5 separate regions of the Homo sapiens genome follow, and regions 1, 2, 3 and 4 are each linked to region 5. Evidence: promoter capture Hi-C in 16 types of primary human blood cells and fetal thymus (Javierre and others, 2016). All regions are on one chromosome and are shown on one strand. Each heading gives the region's core, a stretch centred on a gene start or on the middle of the fragment in contact. The rest is flanking DNA. Distances are from core to core; before and after follow the strand shown. Region 1 overlaps U2SURP (U2 snRNP associated SURP domain containing). Region 2 overlaps U2SURP (U2 snRNP associated SURP domain containing). Region 3 holds the start of PCOLCE2 (procollagen C-endopeptidase enhancer 2). Region 4 overlaps PCOLCE2 (procollagen C-endopeptidase enhancer 2). Region 5 holds the start of PLS1 (plastin 1).

Region 1 (2,700 bases), core at 102-2,601, 430 kb before region 5:
TTCCTCATCATTCATGTGTTCATTGGAGTGGCACTTTTAATTTCCTTTAAAAACTCTTCCTTTGCATTGATAACTTGGCTCACTGTTTGGTGCAAGAGGCCTAGCTTTCAGCCAACCTCATCTTTTGACATGCCTTCCTAACTAAGCTTAATCATTCTAGCTTTTGATTTAACGTGAGAGAAGTGAGACTCTTCCTTTCACCTGAATACTCAAGAGGCCATTGTGGGATTATTAACTGGCCTAATTTCAATAGTGTTGTGTCTCAGGAAATAGGGAGGCCTAAGGGAAAACAGCTAGTCACTGAACAGTCAGAACACACCTTTTTTGATTAAGTTCATCTTCTTATATGACCATAGTTTGTGGTGCCCCAAAACAATCAAAGATCACTGATCACCATAACAGATACAATAATAATGAAAAAGTTTGAGCTATTGTGAGAATTATGAAAATGTGACAGACATGAAGTAAGCACATGCTGTTCGAAAAATAATGACAACAGATTTGTTTGACTTAGGGTTGCCACAAACCTTCAATTTATAAAACACACTGTATCTGCAGAGCACAGTAAGTCAAAGCGCAATAAAACTAAGTATGTCTGTACTTAATTCTATATTCTAAAAATGCTTTTAGCCAATGTTTTCCCATGAGGTATACAGGATGTCCTCTGAACATTTAATAAGTATGTTTTTGCTTCTTAAACCAGCTAGCTGCACTGTACAATTGTTAAGTGAGACTAATAACAACACATACTTCCATGGTGGCCATCTCACAGCTCACCACACACTGCAAATCAAGTGTGAAAGTTATCATGTAGCGGCTTTGCATAGCCACAATCTGATCCCACTAGCCACACAATAGTTTTTCTTCTTTATGTTGCATTCAGAGAAGCAAGAATTCTAGGGATCCTCCAATAATTTCTGTAAGAATCTGAAGTACTCCAATGCTAAAGAAATAAGTCAATCATGTTTAAGAGATCATCACTAATTTTACCAGGAGAAAACTCAAGGACAACAGGACACACACCTATACTTGTTAGGATGTTTAAAATTATAAAGCACATGATGAAAGATGTTACTATTTTAAACATTCACAAGTGAAAAAAATTTATTTTAGGGTTAACATCTTAATAAGACCATTAATTAAAGCAACCATTACAGTTACTTTTCTGAATATATAATAGAAAGGAAAAATATCTTACTCTTCCTTAAGTGCTCCCTTTTTACTAGGTTCCTCTACAAAAGCTTCTGTTTCTTGCTCTTCTGACATTCCATGCAAGTACGGATTTAATGGTGGTGGCCTCCAAAAAGATCCATTTTTGAACATACGAAAATCTTCCGTCCGCCATTTAGTTGGAGAATCTCCCTAACAAACATTTAGAGTTATTATAAAGGTCTAATTACTCAGAGTCAAAATTAACAAAGTAATTGATTCTACTTGCCTGCAGAATAGAATAAAGCTTCCACCTATAGTAAACATGGGCTGGTGTCTGGTTTTCAAATAAGAACCTACACAAAACAAACAAACATTAAACATCATATTCTTTAACAAAGAGCTATCTTCAATTAAATATAAATAAATGAGAAATATTATTTGCCTATTTAGTTCTAAATAAAACAAAAACAAAGATCCCTGAAGAGAATCTCACCCACTACCACCCGCTACCTATCCCCATTCCTTTACTGCAGCCCTAGACTGCCTTAGTGACTGACATTAATACTCAGAAGGCATGCATCATGAGTCTTATGATCGTTTTCACTGAACACTTACATGGCAGATACTGTGTCTGGCAATGGAGAGATTTTCCCAATATGTAATTACAAAAGCAGTGATTTTACATTACTTAAGTGTTAAACTAGTGTCTAAGAATACCGTAACAATTCAGAGGATAAGCAATTTATTTTAAAACTCATTTGTTCAACTGTATCTCACTTATGATTCCTTCATTGAAAAGCATAATGAAATGTATTTTCCTCCTAGAGAATGCTAAAAACAATACTATTTAATCAACCAAATCAAAATCTGATGGAAAATTGTCCTCAATACATTCTACTCTGATTACTAAAACTGTCTTCCCATCCCGTTGCAGAACTAATCCCATACTTTTACAACTTTATTCTTGGAAATATTTTTAATTCTAATAAATTAAAAGTAGTTTTAAACTGCATGCCTGAAGATAAAATATAGTAAATACATATAATGGAATATTATTTGGCCTTAAAAAAGGAAATCCCGATACATGCTATAATACAGATGAATCCTGAGGACATTATGCTAAATGAAATAAGCTAGTCACAAAAGGACAAATATTGTATGATTATACTCATGTGAGTTTACCCTGAGTAATGAAATTACTAAGAGACAGAAAGTAGAATGGCAGTTGCCGGGGCTAACGGGCTAGAAGACTGAGGAGTTACTGCTACACAGGTAAAGAATTTCCATTTTGGAAGATGAAAAAAGTTCTGGAGATGGATGGTGGTGATGGTTGTACAACAATGTGAATGTACTTAATGACACTGAACTGTATACTTAAAAATAGTTAAAATGGGAAATTTTATGTTACATATATTTCACAATTTTTAAAAAATGCACACCTGAACATAGGATTGTTGATTTCTCTGTTCATAATCATAGCTTCAAACATTGGCCCTTCACGTACAACAAACTCTATCATTCGATGTATCAGGGCGAGCAAATTCCTAC
Region 2 (2,700 bases), core at 24-2,523, 410 kb before region 5:
ACAGTATTGTTTTATTTACATTGTCCAGACATAAGGCTAAGAACAGCTGGTAAGATTTTTACACTGAATCAATTTACTCCTCTGAACTCCACTGTATTGCGCATTAGCATAGGCAAAAATCAGCCCAGGACAACAGGACAACCAAGCACTGGGACCCCTCCCATCTCATTCTTTCTTTCATTTTTTTTTTTTCTTGAGACAGAGTCTTACTCTGTCTCCCAGGCTGGAGTACAGTGGCGCGACCTCGGCTCACTGCAGCCTCCGCCTCCCGGGTTCCAGTAATTCTCCTCCCTCAGCCTCCTGGGTAGCTAGGAGTACAGGCACGCACCACCATGCCTGGCTAATTTTTGTATTTTTAGTAGAGACGGAGTTTTACCACGTTGGCCAGGCTGGTCTCGAACTCCTGACCTCAGGTGATCTGTCCACCTCAGCCTCTGAAAGTGCTAGGATTACAGACATGAGCGACCGCACCCGGCCCCATCTCACTCTTTCTGTCCATGGTTTTTCTGTCCCCAACTTTTGTGTCCACCCTGATTTTCTTCTAGCGGCTAATCTTTCTTAAATGTCAAGGTGGTATAAAAGAAAATTTTTAGTATTTATTAACTATGAAACACACCCTGAAACATATCTTGAAATGCATAAATTTACAAATATCTAGAAATTTAAAAATCCAAAAGAATAAATAACTACTCTTACAAAAGAAAAACAAGTTCAGGCAAGAGGCTGAAGGGACTGAAAAAAATCAACTGCCTGGGCCAGGTGCAGTGGCTCACGCCTGTAATCCGAGCACTTTGGGAGGCCGAGGCGGGTGGATCAAGAGATGGAGACCATCCTGGCCAAACCTGGTGAAACCCCATCTCTACTAAAAATACAAAAATTAGCCAGGCGCCTGTAGTCCCAGCTACTCGCTGAGGCAGGAGAATGGTGTGAACCCGGGAGGCAGAGCTTGCAGTGAGCTGAGATCGCGCCACTGCACTACCGCCTAGGCGACAGAGACTCCATATCAAAAACAAACAATAGTAACAAAAAAAACTCAATTGCCTTCCAATACACCAGTATTAACTTGCTAAGCAACAAAAACATCCTAATCATAAAAGCAACAAAAAATATAAAAACATCTAGAAACCAATTTAAGAAATGTATATAACCCTTGTGAAGAAAACAAAAACTTCGAGAAAAATCCAGTTACTCAAGCCACCTTTTCAAAAGATTCATATTACTGGATGGGAAAATTCAATATTAAGATAATGTCAATGACACCTAAATTTCTTTACATATTTAATACAATTTCATTCAACCGCTCTAAATTCCAAAGGGAAATATTTGCAAGGGGGCAAAAGAATTGCCAAAACAATTCTAAAGTTCACCCAGAAAGAATAAGCATCCAAAAGAATAACTAAGAAAGCGCTACCCTTTCTGTAGTCTTTGATGCCACCACATCCAAATCATCATTTCTAGGATTTAAAAACAAAAGATACAAGAACCTAGGCATTCTGCCTATTTCCATATAGTTAACTCTTCCCTGACTCCAAGTCATCAAAAGATGAAGCTCTATAATCTTCAAGGATCTCACTTGCGTAACCATTCACCAAATTAAATAATCTCTAATACAAAAATAATCAGTTCAAAAGTAACAATTTTGTCAGCTTTCAAAATTACACAATTTGATAAATTTGCAAACAGAGCAGTAACAGCATAGTGTAGCACAATGCACCGGTGTAGGACAATGCACCAGCTGATTTCAGTTAGCTTAAGATGTCACTAATCACATTTACTGCAAACCAGACATTTTCCACTGATACATACCTACAGCTACATAGCATTCAGCACGGAACTTTAACAGTTCAAACAGCAGTTAACACAATTTTTAAAATAATCATCAACTTCTAAAGATAACAGTCAAGGTAAACAGTAAATATAGCACTACTTCAGAAGCTGAGCTTCTCCCTCTTCCTAACCTGGAACTGAACTGTATTCTTTGTCTTGAGTTTGGCTTTTTATTTTTAACTGAAGAACACAAACCAATGATGCCTAAAGATCTCCTGAAGTCGGCCGGGCGCGGTGGCTCACGCCTGTAATCTCAGCACTTTGGGAGGCCAAGGCGGGCGGATCACAAAGTCAGAGGAGATCAAGACCATCCTGGCTAACACAGCAAAATCCCGTCTCTACTAAAAATACAAAAAATTGGCCAGGTGCGGTGGCGGGCACCTGTAGTCCCAGCTACTCGGGAGGCTGAGGCAGGAGAATGACGTGAACCCGGGAGGCGGAGCTTGCAGTGAGCTGAGATAGCACTACTGCAGGCCTGGGCGACAGAGCGAGACTCTGTCTCAAAAAAAAAAAAAAAAAAATCTCTTGAAAGGACCCAAAAGCTGCTGGAGGGAGTGGCTCATGCCTATAATCTCAGCTACTAGGGAGGCTGAGGTGGGACGACTGCTCGAGGCCAGGAGTTCAAGACCAGCCTGGGCAACATAGCAAGAACCCCTGTCTCTGGAAAAAAAAAAAAAGAAAAGAAAAGAAAAATACAAAAGGAAGAAGTGAAAAGGCAGACTAAGGGAAGTTTGACACAATAAAGTAGCATACACAAGAGAAATTTATTTTAAGGCAGAGAAAGCAGACAGTAGAAATGTGGGGAGGGACAGCAAGAAAATCCAAAAGGAAAAAAGATCATTCTGATGGCTGCTAAAGGGATAAAAGTGAAGC
Region 3 (2,700 bases), core at 61-2,560, 290 kb before region 5:
CTCACTGCAACCTCCGCCTCCCGGGTTCACGCGATACTTCTGCCTCAGCTTCCCGAGTACCCGGGATTACAGACGCACACCGCAACACCTGGCTAATTTTTTGTATTTTTAGTCGAGGCGGGGTTTCACCATCTTGGCCAGACTGGTTTCGAACTCCTGACCTCGTGATCCGCCCGCCTCGGCCTCCAAAAGTGCTGGGATTACAGGCGTGGGCCATCGCGCCCACCCGTGTTTAGATTCTTAACAGCTCATTATTAGAAATAAAGTCTCGATAAGAACTACTTTAATACTTAATTTTCTTGCTTAGAAAGGTGAAAACAATTTAGAAGGAACAACGTGAGGCATCAAAGTTAAGCTGTATCTCCCATAGCTGGTGATTATTAAAAATCTCTATGAATCTAGTCTGTTCCTGTCATTCTTTTATTAATCCCTGGTTATTGGGAAGCTCTTAACAAAATAAATGTTTAAAATTATATTTCTGTAATTAAGTAAAAGAGAGTATTGATTCCACAAGGCTAGAATTGTTCGTCTAAGAAAAACGAATTCTCCGTAAATTTTAACCCGTTAATACCACAGAAAGATGCTGTTGGAAAGGTCTAAGAACAGAGAGATGCAAGCAGAGAAACACCATTTTCAGAACATGACATGGGATGGTGAGATTTGCTGATTTGGTTCCGTCTTCATTATCTGACATTTAATGACAGTTCACACAGAAATCGCTCGCCTGAAAACCCGTGTTTAAATCCCGGCACAGAGACTGTCTTCCTTGTCATTGTCATACCAGTAAAAAAAAGAAAAGTATCTAGAGAGAGAGAGAGGAGAATAAGCACAGAAGTTAAAATACAATAAAATCCCTTTTCCCTTTCTTTCCTTGGATCTGGGTTTTGAAGGAGACAAAGAAGGACCCCCAGGCTTTCCAGCAGCCAGCAAGCGCTATTACTTTTTATTTAAAAGCAACTGGGAAAAACATTCCCCAAAGCAAAACCAGAAGCCCTCCCTGAGAATCGTCTCTGGGCGTCGGGGCCCGGGCCGCTGGGGTGCCACTCCGCAAGGGGTTCCTCTTCTCCCCGGGGTCCCTGAGGGCTGGACGAGAGAGGACCCGTCGGTCCCGGGGTGCCGGGAGGAGACGTTCGCCCGCCCCACGAGAGGGGGCGGCTCTGGCCTCGGAGCCGCCCCTCCTGCCGCCGGAGAACAAACGGGATATTCAGCAGTGGCCTGTGGCTGCCAGAGCAGCTCCTCAGGGGAAACTAAGCGTCGAGTCAGACGGCACCATAATCGCCTTTAAAAGTGCCTCCGCCCTGCCGGCCGCGTATCCCCCGGCTACCTGGGCCGCCCCGCGGCGGTGCGCGCGTGAGAGGGAGCGCGCGGGCAGCCGAGCGCCGGTGTGAGCCAGCGCTGCTGCCAGTGTGAGCGGCGGTGTGAGCGCGGTGGGTGCGGAGGGGCGTGTGTGCCGGCGCGCGCGCCGTGGGGTGCAAACCCCGAGCGTCTACGCTGCCATGAGGGGCGCGAACGCCTGGGCGCCACTCTGCCTGCTGCTGGCTGCCGCCACCCAGCTCTCGCGGCAGCAGTCCCCAGAGAGGTAACGCGACCCCTGCCCGGGCTCCCTTTCTCTCCTTTCCCTTCCTCCACCCCTGCAGCCTCGCCTGCTGCTTTACTCAACCCGCTTCGGCGCGCCTGGGTGACCCAGCGCTCGACCCTGCGCTCCCGCGCGGTGCAGGCGTCCGCCACCCTCGGGTAGGCTAAGCCCGGGACTTCGGGACCCATCCTTGCTCGCGGGGCTCCCTCCTGGGTCCCCAGCCCGGCCTGCCGGATGGCCCTGCAGCTGGCTTGGCCACCACGTGGCGGGGCTTAATCTGACTTGTGTCTCCCCTCTCCTCGTGTCTATGGGGCCAGAGGGAAGCACTGGGGCCCAAATATGTGGATTTTGGTTTACCGCTGTTTTTTTTCCTTCCCCGAGAGGCTTTGCCCAGAGACGTAAACTAGGGAACAACCCTAGCGGCGCGGCGCCTAGGGAGCCGCTCCGGAAAGTTAACTCTTCGCCAACCTCTGGAAGGCCCCAGGAGCTGGGCTGTGGGACCTGCCCGGTGGCCAACTTTGGCATCACCTCTTCAGCCTCCATCAACATCAGCCTCCCTTTCGATGGGAAGCTCTGCCAATGGCGAGTGATTTTCAGAAAGGGGGAGGAGAACTGGGCATCTCTCCAAATATGGGAACGACAAACTTTTTTTATATTAACCAATTGCTTGCCTGTCTTTCTTTAAAACCATGCTTCTCATTCAGCCTGGCTCTTACCTTCTCTCCCACTCCCCCAGTTAAATTGATGTATTTACCATTTTCCTACAAGACTTTGCCACAATGCCGAGGACTTGATTATACATATATATAATCTTGTGTTATTATGATGGAGACAGATGGCGCTGGACTGAATGCTTTGTCAGGCTATAATTTAAATATTCTAGGAGCTAGCAAATTTTCAGATCCCTTATATGGTGCAAGCATTGATTAATCAACATTAACTTTTATTTATATTAATAGGCTACACCTTTCTGAAGGTAACATCAGATTGTTAGACCATGTTTCAAATTACATTATCTTTTCTTCTTTTATGTTCCCAGACCTGTTTTCACATGTGGTGGCATTCTTACTGGAGAGTCTGGATTTATTGGCAGTGAAGGTTTTCCTGGAGTGTACCCTCCAAAT
Region 4 (2,700 bases), core at 81-2,580, 270 kb before region 5:
TTGAAATCCAATTTAGTAGTTTTTAACTCTTGCAGTTACTACTTTCTTGCTACCCAAGATTGCAAAGATATTCTTCTGATATGGCTGTCTTGTCTGGGGAAACACCCAGGGTCCTTTATCTCGCACCAAGAAAATTAGCAACATGGACACACTCGTGGAGTGGATTAAGGAGCAGAGAGTTTAATAGGCAAGAAAGAAGAGAACAGCTCCCTCTACAGAGGGAGGTCTAACTGCCACATATGGTGGAAAACAGTCAGTTATACTGGGAGGCTCGAGGAGGCGGTGTCTGATTTGCATAGGGCCCAGGGGATTGGTTTGACCAGGCGTGTCATTCACATAGCCCTTGAAAAAACTGGCCCTCCCACCCTAACCTTTTATTATGCAAATGTGGCTTCTACCTGGCTGGTTGCCATGATACCTGTACACATGGCTTCTACCTGTCTGGCCACAATGTTACCTGCACACGCGGCAACAAAGAAAAGGGAGTGGGAACTGCCCTGTTGCGTGGACCTGGTTCTTAGCTGCCTGCATTTACATATGCAAGCCTGCTTGCTTGTCAATGCTTGCAGGTCTGGTTTTTCAGGCCATTTTCTGTTAGAAAAGAAATGTTTTGGGGGCTGCTTTTTTATTAAAAGAAAAAGCCTTACTGAAGACTCTTTTACCCATTCTAGCTGCCTAAAATAATTTCTTAATAACTCCTGTAATATATCTGTGTTTTTTGTAGAAGCTTATAATTTTAGCTTTTACATTTATGTCTGTGATTCATCTCAAGTTAATTTATGTATGGTGTGAGATGGGGTTATGATTCATATTTTTCAACATTTTTTGTTGAAAAGACTGTTCTTGTACCCATTATATTAGTCAAGATACTCCAGAGAAACAGTCAAAATATTTTATTTATTTATTATTGATTGATTGATTATGGGAATTGGCTCATGCAATTATAGAGGCTGAGAAGTCCCACCATCTGCTTTCTGCAAGCTGGTGAACCAGGAAAACTGGTGGTGTAAATCAGTCCAAGTTCAGAGACCTGAGAACCAGGAGGGCCTCTGCGTAAGTCCTGGAGTCCTAAGGCCTGAGAGCCAGGAGTTCTGATATCCGAGGGCAGGAGAAAATGGATGTCCCAGCTCAAGGAAGAAGAGAGAGAGAATTTGCCCTTCCTCCACCTTTTTGTTCTACTTGGGCCCTCAACAGATTGGAGGACGTGCACCCACACTGTTGAGAATGGATCTGCTTTACTCAGTCTACTGATTCAAATGCTAGTCTCTTCCAGGCAAACCCTCATACACACTCCCAGAAATCATGTTTTATCAGCTACCTTGACATTCCTTAGCCCAGTAAGTTGACACATACAAATCAACCATCACACTTATTGAAGAGCATTGACACCTTTGCCAAAGATTATATGTGTGGGTCTATTTCTGGACTCTCTTCTGTTCCATTGATCTGTTTGCCTATCCGGACTATTTTTCTCTTGCTTACAGGGAGTCTTTTAGACATCGTTATTATGGTGATACTTAACAACATATTAAGTGAACTACTTTTTTAAAAAGAGAAAAATAAGCCTTAGATTAAAAGACTATATCCACATTTCCTTGCTTCCTATCCAGTCACACAAATTATTCCAAGTTCTCCATACATTGATTTTGTTGACATATTTATATAATGAGCCTGCTGACTACATAATATCTGTATTTGTAGTTATTTCTAAAACTTCTTGTGTTTTAATTTTTACTCTTTTATATTATCCTCTAAAAAGCAGTGAGAGGCCCTCCATCCTTCACAGGATGTTGTTTCTTTTTATATTCTGTAGAAATTATGGCTGATCCAGAAATTAAAGTGAGAAACCAGTGTTCCTAGCCAATGCATTCTTCAAGAGATGTTGTTGTCAACTCACTTATTTTGTATGGGGTAACTTCATTAAACAAGCTTGTAAGGGGTTCCTTGCCTCTCACTCTTGGCGTAAAATGGATGTATGAAACCAGATTTTGCAGTGTGACTCAGATGTTCATCTTTATTACAAGTTAAGTTTTGATGCTTTTCTGTTTGTATTTTAAAAGTACTTTAGGGTTGACAATTTAAAAAAAAAACAGGCAAAAGATTTGAATAGACATTTCACTAGAGAAGATGTATAAATGGTCAATAAGCACATGAAGAGATGCTCAACATCATTGGTCATTAGAGAAATGCAATCAAAACCACAATAAGCTACTACTTCATACCCATTAGGATGACTTTAACAAAAAAAAAAAACACAGAGAATAGCAAGTGTTGTTGAGGATGTAAAGAAGTTGAAACTCTCATACACTGCTGGTAGGAATGTAAAATGGTACAGCCACTTTGGAAAACAGTTTCTTTTAAAGTTAAACATTTACCATATGACCAAGCAGTTGTACTTTTAGATGCAGGAGAAATGAAAATACATCCACATAAAGACTTGTACAAAGATGTTTATGGAAGCATTGTTAATAATAGCCAAAAGTAGATACATTTCAAATACCCATCAACAGGGTAAATGGATAAATATGTGGCATATTCATACAATGGAATATTATTCAGCCATAAAAGGTATGCAGTACTAATTCATGCTACATGGACCTCAGAGACACTATGCTAAGTGAAAGAAGCCAGATGCAATAGACCACATACTGTTTGATTCCATTCATATGAATGTCCAGAAAAGGCAAGTCTATAGAGACA
Region 5 (2,700 bases), core at 25-2,524:
TCATTTGTAAACTGAAGCAGCTGAACTGGCTGACCTCAAAGGTCTCTACAGCCAAAACTAGACCAGCTGTATATTATTTCTGCCATTAAAACATTTATCATGGGAGGAATGAAGGGGGGCAGGATACCTGTATTCCCTTTCCATATAGGTTTCTCTTCCTGAACTTAAAATTTCCTCTTCCTAAACTTACTACCTCTCTCTCTATATATATATATGCCTCCACATTACACATTAACACTTTACTATAGAATTTCATTACATAATTCAACTTAAAGGAAAGCTGATTACAAAGGTGGTGGGGGGTGTAAAAGTACTTGCTTCAAGTTCAGTGTGTGCCCCCTGTCCTGAAATTTTGCTTCTGGCTCACAGGTTCTTCAAGAAATTTATGCAGCACAGCTGAAGCCTCATACAAGTGTATCCAACACCGTGGCTGGAGGGAAAGATATCACGGTATAAGCCATAAAATGTGACATAGTAAGTAAGTAAAGGAGGAAAAGTGAGAATTCTGTTACTCATCTAAACGACCGCTTCCTTTTAATAGTACCAAATGAAGACCGAAATACAGTAATAATTGAAAAGTTAGGGAGAAATCTTAAATTTTTTTAAGTCTCCACTTGAAAATGCAGCTGAAACACGGAAAGTTTTTTGGCAGTGAAATTCGCTGAAAACTGACATTTTTATGCCGCATCCAGAGGTCCCTATGCTCCAGGAAAGGTACCAAAAACAGCACGGATGGGATTTCACTACAGCCCTATTGATCCTATGCACCAAAAGGCCAAAGGCAAATAAACCAGTCCCAGAATTAAAACAAAACAGGCTGGTTCAGAAAGCCTCACCGGCAGCCACCCAAAGTTGAAAGAAGAAAACTTAATGAAATACCTTATTTCATTGCATAGAATCACAATTCAGTTAACAGGCTTATTGTTTAAGCAGTGTAAATACGCGATTTAACACCTGCGGGCACTGCCTGCCGGGACTGGGCAGAAGCGTGCCCAGAGGACGGCGGGCGCCACACTGCACAGCCAGGAGACGAGACGCGAGCGAGGGGACCCGGAGATACTGCCCCCGAGCCGCCGCGCGCCCCCAAAGGAGTAACGCTTCGCTTTCCATCTGTCTGTCCAGCCTTCCTTTTGGGCCCTATCCCCACCCCCGCGTACCTGCCGCCACCGCTGTCCTGCCTTCGAGAGGGCAGCTCCCACTGGAGATCCAAGTACCTGCAGGTCCACTCTGCGGCTACCTCTCCGCGCCCGCGTAGCCGCTGCGCTCGCGCCACTGCGCATGCTCGGCCGGCACCCGGGCCCGCAAACTCTGAATCCACTTGCCGCGTTTTGCCTGCGGCTCCCAGGGGAGGGAAAGGGAAGCCCAGAACCTGGGTTTAGGCTAAGGGTGAAAGAGGAGTTGCAGGCGCTGGGAGCGTGGATGGGGAGAGGTGGACGGGCGCTGCGGCAACGTTATCTCTACCGCCCACAGTTACCCAAGTCTAAAGATGACCACCTACACCCTGGGAATGAGTTTAGCACAGCAGTTCTCAAACTTGAGCGTGGATCAGAATCACCTGGAGAGCTTTTTAAATCACAGATCCCAAACCCGGAAACTGAGTTTCCGATTCAGTTAGGTCTGGAGCGTAGCGCGACAGTTCCCATTTCTAACATGTTCTCAGCGAAAACTGGTGCTACTAGTCTGGGTACCACACTTTGGGACCTGCTGGTCAAAAGGAAAGGTATACGTTATTAAAGGAAGACTTGTTTCTCTCCCCTACTCTTTTTTTTTCCGTTTGTTTCACGGATTGCTTCCTTTTCCTTTAACAGCCACACCTGATTAAAATAAATATATAACTAAAGCCCACACTCAAACAAAAGTGGGATATTTTCTCTCGCATGTGAGTCAGGTAAATGGAATGCTGCCTCAAGAGTTCTCACATACTTTGCCTGAAGCATAATCCGTAGTTGTGGTCTGTCCAACTCAGTCCAGAGAACAGAACAAGGTTTTGCTGCCCCTTTAACTCAAAGTCCCACGTGCCCCTTCTGCGCCTAACACAATATCCAATACAGAATAGGCACCCAACCAACCCTGAGATGGTAACAATAGAAAAAATAAAGGGGGGAAGTTGAAATTATTTTAAGAACTCAAACAAATTGGACGAGCAATGAACTATGAAAGTAGGTGGGCCATGGAGAGGGAAGATAAGGAATTTTTCCCACCTGCCACCTAGAGAATCAGGTGAATTTAGTATTCTTATCTGATTTTTCCCACCTGCCACCTAGAGAATCTGGTAAATTTAGTATCCTTATCTGATACTTATTTATCTAGATATGCAAGGGGAGTTAAGTAAGTTCTCACAAAATAAAGCAAAATATTTCCTTAAAAGGTAAACATACATCTAACATATGACCCAGCCATTTCATTCCTAGATGTTATCCAAGAGAAATTAAAACATATGCTTACACAAAAACTTGAACAGGAATGCTCATAGCAGCTGTTTTTCACAAAAGCCCCAAACCAGAAGGAACCCAACTGTCCAACAACATGTAAATGAAAAAACAAATTGTGGTATATTTATACAATGCAATACTACTCAACAATAAAAAAGAAGAAATACTCTCACACAGGACTCAATATGGATAACTCTCAAAATCGGTATGCTGAGTTGAAGAAGCTAGAGACAAAACATATTGTATAATCCCACTTATATGAAGTACA

The links. The method cuts DNA at HindIII sites, captures the fragments that hold promoters and counts their contacts. A CHiCAGO score of 5 or more calls a contact.
Region 1: a fragment that was not itself captured here is called in contact with the fragment with the promoter of PLS1 in region 5 in 4 of 17 cell types (total CD8 T cells, naive CD8 T cells, total CD4 T cells and 1 more); the score reaches 7.0 in total CD8 T cells.
Region 2: a contact is called between a fragment that was not itself captured here and the fragment with the promoter of PLS1 in region 5, in 14 of 17 cell types (naive CD8 T cells, total CD4 T cells, total CD8 T cells and 11 more). The highest score is 12.0, in naive CD8 T cells.
Region 3: the fragment with the promoter of PCOLCE2 here is called in contact with the fragment with the promoter of PLS1 in region 5 in 2 of 17 cell types (M0 macrophages and M2 macrophages); the score reaches 5.4 in M0 macrophages.
Region 4: a fragment that was not itself captured here is called in contact with the fragment with the promoter of PLS1 in region 5 in 1 of 17 cell types (megakaryocytes); the score reaches 5.0 in megakaryocytes.

The regions. Positions count from the first base shown.
Region 1 is chr3:143,027,145-143,029,844 of GRCh38, reverse strand. U2SURP (U2 snRNP associated SURP domain containing) reads right to left here. Exons shown (of 28, transcript NM_001080415.2): 14 at 2,592-2,696; 15 at 1,439-1,505; 16 at 1,199-1,362. Among named protein-coding and RNA genes, the nearest start is that of U2SURP, 27 kb to the right of the region's middle. The HindIII fragment of the contact is 215 bases long and covers 1,244-1,458 here.
Region 2 is chr3:143,007,093-143,009,792 of GRCh38, reverse strand. The region is part of intron 1 of U2SURP (U2 snRNP associated SURP domain containing); the gene reads right to left. Among named protein-coding and RNA genes, the nearest start is that of U2SURP, 6.9 kb to the right of the region's middle. The HindIII fragment of the contact is 5,594 bases long and covers 1-2,700 here.
Region 3 is chr3:142,887,693-142,890,392 of GRCh38, reverse strand. It overlaps PCOLCE2 (procollagen C-endopeptidase enhancer 2), which reads left to right and starts at 1,310. Exons shown (of 9, transcript NM_013363.4): 1 at 1,310-1,579; 2 at 2,616-2,700. The coding sequence starts at 1,497. LOC124909443 (a long non-coding RNA gene) reads right to left here and starts at 2,129. Exons shown (of 2, transcript XR_007096122.1): 1 at 1,934-2,129; 2 at 1-802. RefSeq lists a silencer at 1,318-1,367. The HindIII fragment of the contact is 10,419 bases long and covers 1-2,700 here.
Region 4 is chr3:142,864,710-142,867,409 of GRCh38, reverse strand. All of the region lies in intron 2 of PCOLCE2 (procollagen C-endopeptidase enhancer 2), which reads left to right. Among named protein-coding and RNA genes, the nearest start is that of PCOLCE2, 23 kb to the left of the region's middle. The HindIII fragment of the contact is 1,202 bases long and covers 730-1,931 here.
Region 5 is chr3:142,594,967-142,597,666 of GRCh38, reverse strand. PLS1 (plastin 1) reads right to left here and starts at 1,274. Exons shown (of 16, transcript NM_001145319.2): 1 at 1,158-1,274. It overlaps PLS1-AS1 (PLS1 antisense RNA 1), which reads left to right. Exons shown (of 4, transcript XR_001740938.2): 4 at 370-1,758. RefSeq lists an enhancer at 979-1,218. The HindIII fragment of the contact is 10,696 bases long and covers 1-2,700 here.